Linked DNA regions of Homo sapiens: region 1 is linked to region 2. Evidence: promoter capture Hi-C in 16 types of primary human blood cells and fetal thymus (Javierre and others, 2016). All regions are on one chromosome and are shown on one strand. The core of a region is centred on a gene start or on the middle of the fragment in contact, and the rest is flanking DNA. Distances in the headings are between cores, read along the strand shown.

What was found. Contacts are between HindIII fragments. The CHiCAGO score rates a contact against its expected background, and 5 or more counts as called.
Region 1: a contact is called between a fragment that was not itself captured here and the fragment with the promoter of C14orf119 in region 2, in 1 of 17 cell types (neutrophils). The highest score is 5.7, in neutrophils.

The regions. Positions count from the first base shown.
Region 1 is chr14:22,577,753-22,581,493 of GRCh38, forward strand. All of the region lies in intron 1 of DAD1 (defender against cell death 1), which reads right to left. Among named protein-coding and RNA genes, the nearest start is that of DAD1, 9.6 kb to the right of the region's middle. RefSeq lists a silencer at 2,505-2,667. The HindIII fragment of the contact is 2,195 bases long and covers 861-3,055 here.
Region 2 is chr14:23,093,306-23,096,931 of GRCh38, forward strand. C14orf119 (chromosome 14 open reading frame 119) reads left to right here and starts at 2,200. Exons shown (of 2, transcript NM_017924.4): 1 at 2,200-2,314. It overlaps ACIN1 (apoptotic chromatin condensation inducer 1), which reads right to left and starts at 1,831. Exons shown (of 19, transcript NM_001386863.1): 1 at 1,670-1,831; 2 at 174-239. The coding sequence starts at 1,807. RefSeq lists enhancers at 1,572-1,881, 1,587-2,110, 1,922-2,001, 2,022-2,231, 2,111-2,634. The HindIII fragment of the contact is 5,470 bases long and covers 2,066-3,626 here.

The DNA.
Region 1 (3,741 bases), core at 708-3,207, 520 kb before region 2:
ATGGTAGATGCCAGGGACTGACAGAGAGGAGGATGAGGAGTTACTGTTTAATGGGAACTGAATTTCAGTTGCGGAAGACAAAAAAGTTCTGGATATGGATAGTGATGATGATTTTACAACAATGTACATGTACTTAATGCCACAGAACTATACACTTAAAAATGGTTAAAATGGTAAATTTTGTCATGTTTTATCTTGACCAAAAACAAACAAAAAAAAGGCCGGGCACGGTGGCTCACGCCTGTAATCCCAGCACTTTGGGAGGCCGAGGCAGGCGGATCACCTGAGGTCGGGAGTTCAAGACCAGCCTGACCAACATGGAGAAACCCCTTGTCTACTAAAAATACAAAATTAGCCGGGCATGGTGGCGCATGCCTGTGATCCCAGTTGCTTGGCAGGCTGAGGCAATGAGGCAGGAGAATTGGTGGAGGTGGAGGTGGAGGTGAGCCAAGATCGTGCCATTGCACTCTAGCATGGGCAACAAGAGCGAAACTCCATCTAAAAAAAAAAAAATTAAAAAATAAAACAAGGGCCAGGCACGGTGGCTCACTCCTGTAATCCCCGCACTTTGGGAGGCCAAGGTGGGTGGATCACCTAAGGTCAGGAGTTCAAGACCAGCCTGGCCAACATGGGGAAACCCCATCTCTAATAAAAACTACAGAAATTAGCTGGGCATGGTGGCACGCACCTGTAATCCCAGCTACTCAGGAGGCTGAGGCAGGAGAATTTGCTTAAACTCAGGAGGTGGAGGTTGCAGTGAGCCGAGATTGCGCCACTGCACTCCAGCCTGGGCAAGAGAGACTCCGTCTCAAAACAAAACAAAACAAAAAAGTATATGCTATATGATTCCATGTACAAAAAGCTTAAAACTTGGTAAAACCAATCTATGGCAAGATAGTGGTTTTTATCTTTCACAGGGAGAGGATAACTGGGAAGATGCAAGGAGGCATCTATGGTGCTGGTAATGTCCTGCATCTTGATCTGGATAGTGGTTAGACAGGTACATTTAAAAATTTATCAAGTTGTACAATTAAATTTCGCACTCTGTTAAAGGAAAAAAAATATTACTTCTCAGAGTTACACTGAAACCTAGAGGCTTTCTCAAAGAAAAAAATATATAACCAAAAAACCCACAAAGCTCTCTTATCTGCTGATTTAAAGGTTTCTAATTATACCTAGATGGGGATGCACTTGAGGCAACAACAAAGGGTCCGGGCTGAATGATAAAAAGTTATAAAAATGTGAATTATTTTCTAATAGAATATTCATTTAATGGGTAGCAGAGTTTATAAAGATAGCACGCTCATTCTTGAGAACCTCACAGTTCTCGATAAACTATCTTTGATCTCGAAGTTCTAGCAGCTGCTTATTTGTCTCAAAAAAGGCAGAAGACCTAAGAGAGATAACTCATGAGAACTCTCCACTGCCACACTCCATCCCCTTGAAGATTCTAACAGTCACCATTGACAAAAAAAAAAAAACAGGCAGTTCCAGGAATACACTCTTCCGAAGTATCTTTATGCCTGTGATAAATTATTACATTGCTTAAGAAAACCTAAACTCGCTTCAGGCTAGCATCATCCCATCATTAACTAAGAAAAAGCAACAAACAAATCTAATCCAAAGGCCAGAAAACTATCAGACTAGTTCTCCAGAGCCTGTCACCATGGCAACAGTTTTCATTATGCTTAAACATGTAAACACCATGGAAGCACCATTGATCCTTTCAGGTATCCAGACCCTTAAAAATATTAAAGACAATGACTGAAGCAAGGGTAACCAGTGTAAACCCCTGCTGTAGAAAGTACAGATTCATTCATCCACTTGGGAGAGCAACTAGCAATATCCATTAATATTTAAAATGATTTTACCTTTTGACAAAGGAATTTATCTTACAGAACAAAGACATTCTGAAAGTATGTTTGTAAAGTTGAAAAAAAAATTAAAACAGTCTAAACATCAAGGGGATTAAACTATACAACTGACATGCAATGAAATCCCATGCAATTATTCAAAAGAATAAGGTAAATTCTCTGTACATTGACAGCAAACATATCTAAGACTTATTAAGTGAAAAAAAGCCAATCCTTTTTTTTTTTTTTTTTGAGACAGGGTCTCACTCCATCACCCAGGCTGGAGTGCAGTGGTGCAATCATGGCTCCCTGCAGCCTCGACCTCCTGGGCTCAAACAATCCTCCCACCTCAGCCCCCTGAGTAGCTGAGACAACAGTCATGCACCACCATGCCTAGCTAATTTTTTTGTTTGTTTTTGGTAAAGACAAGGTCTCCCTATGTTGCCCAGCAATCCTCCCGCCTCTGCTTGCCTAAGGGTAGGGATTACAGACATGAGCCCCCACACCCAGCCCATTCCTAATTTCACTTGGCCAGGGCATGGTGGCTCACAACTGTAACCCCAGCATGTTGTGAAACCAAGGTGGGAGGATCGCTTGAGCCCAAGAGCTTGAGACCAGCCTGGGAAAGATAGGGAGACCCTGTCTCTACAAAAAAAATGTTTTAATTAGCCAGGTGTGGTAGCACACACCTATGGCCCCAGCTACTCGGGAGGCTGAGATGGGAAGATTGCTTGAGCCCAGGAGGTAGAGGTTGCAGGCTGCAGTGAGCCACAGTCATGCCACCGCACTCTGGCCTGGGAGACAAATCAAGACCGTCTCAAAAAAAAAGTAAAATATTTTATTTACATATAATGATATACATAATTATCTTGTCATTTCAGTTAGAATCTAGAAAAAAATCTGAAGAAATAGAAAACTATTAATAGTGGTCATTGGAGTAAAGAACACGGTGTTGAGTTTTGAGGAAATATGAGGGAAAAAAAGAAAAATTATCCATGAAGGTGGATAAGGTAATAAATTGATGTTATTATTATTGTGATCATGGTAACCAGATTATTTCAATGAAAACATATGAATCAGAGTCCCACAAAGTTGGAAAGGACCTCAGAGGTCATAAACACCAACACCCCATTTGATGTATACAATGCCCAAGAGGTGGTAGGGGGTGGCCATGCTTGGGGAGGCGTACTAATCACGTGGGAAGCTTTCCAAAGTATACTCACCACTTACAGAATCTGGTAAGCCACCTCCAGATGGAGAATTATCAACTTTCCAGAGCCTGTGTTACTGATAAGGATATCACATCTCTCAGATGCATTGGAAACAAAAAAGGCAAAAAAAAAAGCCTGTTCAAAATGCTCCACTACCAATGATCCTTCAGTCTCTCCCTGGGCACTTCCAAAGATGGAAATTTACTACCTCTTCAAGCAGTCTGTTCCATTTTAGCAATTCTGATTTACTCTATCCCCTTAAATGTCCATTTATTCCATAAAATATTTACTAAACATCTACTACATGACAAGCATCATTTCAGGTGCTAGGAATATGGCACAGAACAAAACAGTCTGGCTCTCAAGGAACTTACACTCCTATGGAGAGAAACATATAATCAATAAGTTAACAAATAAACCAGGAACTACTAGGTAGAGATATGTACTATGAAGAAAATAAAACAGGATAATAAAGAGTGACTGGGAAGCTTTTCTTAAATTCAATCATAACAGAAGGTCTCTTTAAGAGCTTGCTATTTAAGACCAATATTTGAAAGATAAGGAACCAACCATGTAAAAATCTGGGGGCAGAGCATTCTAGACAGTAAGAACAATCTTGACATGTTATAAACACAAGGACAGACGCCAGGCATGGTGGCTCACACCCGTAATCCCAG
Region 2 (3,626 bases), core at 950-3,449:
TGTATACAACTGGGTTGATTAGAATTCAACTGTCCTGGTTTGAGAACATTTCTGACTAAGAGAACTTAGGAAAACAGTCATGAGGACTTAAGCATCAAATATACAACACCACGTCCTTCCATGTGTCTGGATATCCAAAGGGCCCACTCCATTGAATACACCTTCTTTCTCACCTGGGAATTTGGCTGGAATGCAGCATGGGGTGTTGAGTGTTTCTGTAAATTTTCTAGCATTAGAGCCTGGTATAGAGAAGGGTAAAAGTCAGAAATGATGAGGAAAAAAAAGAAAAACAAACCCCCACCTCTACCACAACCTCTAAATTAAACGCAATGACTTAAATACACACAATTAAACTGTATTCCTTTTCCAGGGACCTGAAAACCCTTTACTAACACTGTTCTCATTCATCTTCAGAAGACCCATAAAGGTAGCCATGGTTACTGTTACTAAATGTACAGATATAAAATGCAGGCACACAGAATCAGTGACCTGGCTATGTCATAATATCAGTAATAGAACCAGTACTAAAATCCCTATTATCTTCTGCACTTTCGCCAAGTGCCCCTTCTAAATCTGATCATGCATGTAAAATTACTTAAAATACTCAAACCAGCCATGGGGCTCCTGGTTTTTGCCTGACGGAATTACTTGGTCAAAGGGTTACCCAGTACCAGGGTCAATTTGTATAATTTCCAGTACTGTGGCACCTAGATTTATCAAATTTATAAAATTTTCAAAGAGGAAGCTACAGAAGAAAATGACCACAGACCCTGTAAACTGTGGTCTAACCTAGTCTATCCACACAAACACACACACACAAACACACACACACAAAACTATCAGCTTCTGTATAAGCAACGGTCTGCCAACTCAACCCTGGAGCCAACCCAGACCTAATCTGCACTACCTGCCACGTATCCTGTTGAACTCTAATTAAAACCAAGACATCCTCATCTTCCCTTCTTTAAACCAAACCTATACACTTGAATCGAGCTACACCTACCTCATGACAATCCCACCTTAATCTACTCAAACCGATTCAAAATCCCCAATATATATCAACCTGCCTCGCCTCTCTCACCAATATTCACCAAACTCTTAACCACCCAAATTGCCACTAGATGCCACTAAATTAGAGACCTCTCTCTCATCAAGTCCCTTCAAATAAAGGTCTCTCTTCATCTCACCTCCTCATCTAATCGAGCAGACATTTTACCCTACCCCAGTCCTATTCGTGCAGATACCGATACCAACCCCATCCACCCCTTCGCGCAACTATACCCCTAACTCCGACCCAGCCCAACTCGCCCCCCTCAGGCCAGCAACGCCGTAGGTTGTAGTGGGATTTAACTCCTTCTGCAGCGCATGCGCCGAAACCACAGATACAAACAAGGAGGGGGTGGGGGAAGGAGGAAGGAGCTTAAGACACTCCTGGAGAGTAGTGCACACCCTCCCATTTGGGCTCGCGCTGCTGCCGTTAAGGCGGGAACCGGCGCGATCTCCATTCCAGCGCGAACCTCATCAACCACCGTGCGCGCGGATCCAGAGGCTCGCGCTGGCGGCCTGAGCGAGCTCGCGCCGAGCCCGGATACTGCGCCTGCGCCGCGGCAGAGGCTCGTCTCTACCGGGTCCGCTCTCCTCCGACACCCCAGCAACGCCGACTCCTCACCCCTTTGAGCCGCTTGACCAGGGCACTCTTCTGCCCGCTCTTGGCTAGGCCTCGCTGCTCCAGTGCGGCCTTCAGGTCGGTCACCCGCAGCGCCTGAAGAGGCTTCCCGTCCAGAGTCACCTCCTCCAGCTCCGCCATCTTGCGTGAGGTACTCGGGTCCGTCCCGACGGCTTCGGGCATCTTCGGTAATTTCCGCCAACGCCCTTCGAACGTACCGAGATGACCCCGCCCACTGCCATACTCTACCCCTCGATTACCACTCAGAACTCCCCGGGTTCCTCCGGATGTCCTCGGATGTTTCCGTCTCCACATCGTTACCAATCAATTCTTTCCATCCGCCCTGCAGCGCCCCTTTTCTCGCCCTGCTTTCAGGCTCGGTTTTCTTCGTCTTGCCGAAGCTTTGAATCGAATATATTCGGAAACCCTCGACCCTGGTATAACCATAATCGGAGATGTTCGTTTATTTCCGGACCTAGAGATGAGGCGCTGGGGCGCTTGGGTGTTTGGGGCGGGTCCGAGGCCGGAAGTGCGTGGGCTGCCGGGCTGGCCCAGCTTAGGGTTTTCAGGAAATTTGGAAGCTGCCGCAGTAGTTGGAGTCTAAGGACTCGTGACAATCTTCGGGTGCCCTTCGAGAGAAAAGGGGAGGTAAGCGGGGTAGAAGTACCTCTATGGGCCGGGTCAGACTCGGTGTTTGCGGATTACCTTAATAGGGCAAGCCCCCCACTCCTTAACGCAAACAGCTTCTGCCCTCTGTCCTCTGAATCATAGCCACTCCCATCTTAGGCTTTTTTTGGGGAGGGGCGGGGGGCTGGTGCGGAATCGGAATAACAAGCTCCGTGGGGGTGCGCAAGAAGCATCGCCGTGTCTTCGGACCCAGACTATGAACTGATCTATGACGCTGAACTTGAGTTTGAGTTTGCCTTGGAAGCCATGTGGCAAGATTCTGGGAAAGTTCTTCCTTGCTCCGCAGAAGAGAGTAAGTTCCCTTGGAGGAACTGCTTCCTGTAGGGCAAGAACTGGAAAATGCAAGCGCCCTGAACTTTTTTGGTACTTGAACTAATATTAATTGTTTAGGGGCTTCTTTCTTTGTCACTACCAATCCTCCAACTTGATGCAGAAGAAACACAAACAGTAAAATAGGTCACAGACAAATAGTTTAGAGATTTAAGAGATACGTTAGAGATTTAAGAGACTGAAAACTATTAAAGTCAAATTGGCTGATCTTTCCGTTGCATTCATGATGCAAAATCAGTGGCAAGGTGCCGGGCGCGGTGGCTTACGCCTATAATCCCAGCACTTTGGGAGGCCGAGGCGGGCGGATCACTTGAGGTCAGGAGTTGGAGACCAGTCTGGCCAATATGGTGAAACCCCGTCTCTACTAAAAATACAAACAAATTAGCCGGGCGTGGTGGCGTACGCCTATAGTCCCAGCTACTCGGGAGGCTGAGGCAGGAGAATCGCTTGAACCCAGGAAGCAGTGGTTGAGATCACGCCATTGCACTACAGCCTGGGTGACAGAGCAAGACTCCGTCTCAAAAAAAAAAAAAAAAAAAAAAAAAATTGCAAGGCACCAATAGATACCATACTAAAAAAAAAAAAAAATTTTTTTTTTGTCACTCCACTCTGGGTCCCTCCACTCTGACGCAGGCTGGAGTGCAGTGGCGCGATCAGGGCTCACTGCAGCCTCAACCTCCCGGGCTCAGGTGATGCTCCTACCTCAGTCTCCTACGTAGCTAGGACTACAGGTAGGCACCTCTACGCTCAACTAATTTTTTTATTTTTTGTAGGGATGAGGTTTTGCCATGTTGCCCAGGCTGGTCTCGAACACCTGGGCTCAAGCGATCCTCTTGCCTCGGCCTCTCAAAGTGCTGAGATTACTTTGGAAGTGCAAGAACCACCGCGTCTGGCCCATACTAAATATTAAGGACAATTGTTTAAAGACATGGATTGTCATAAA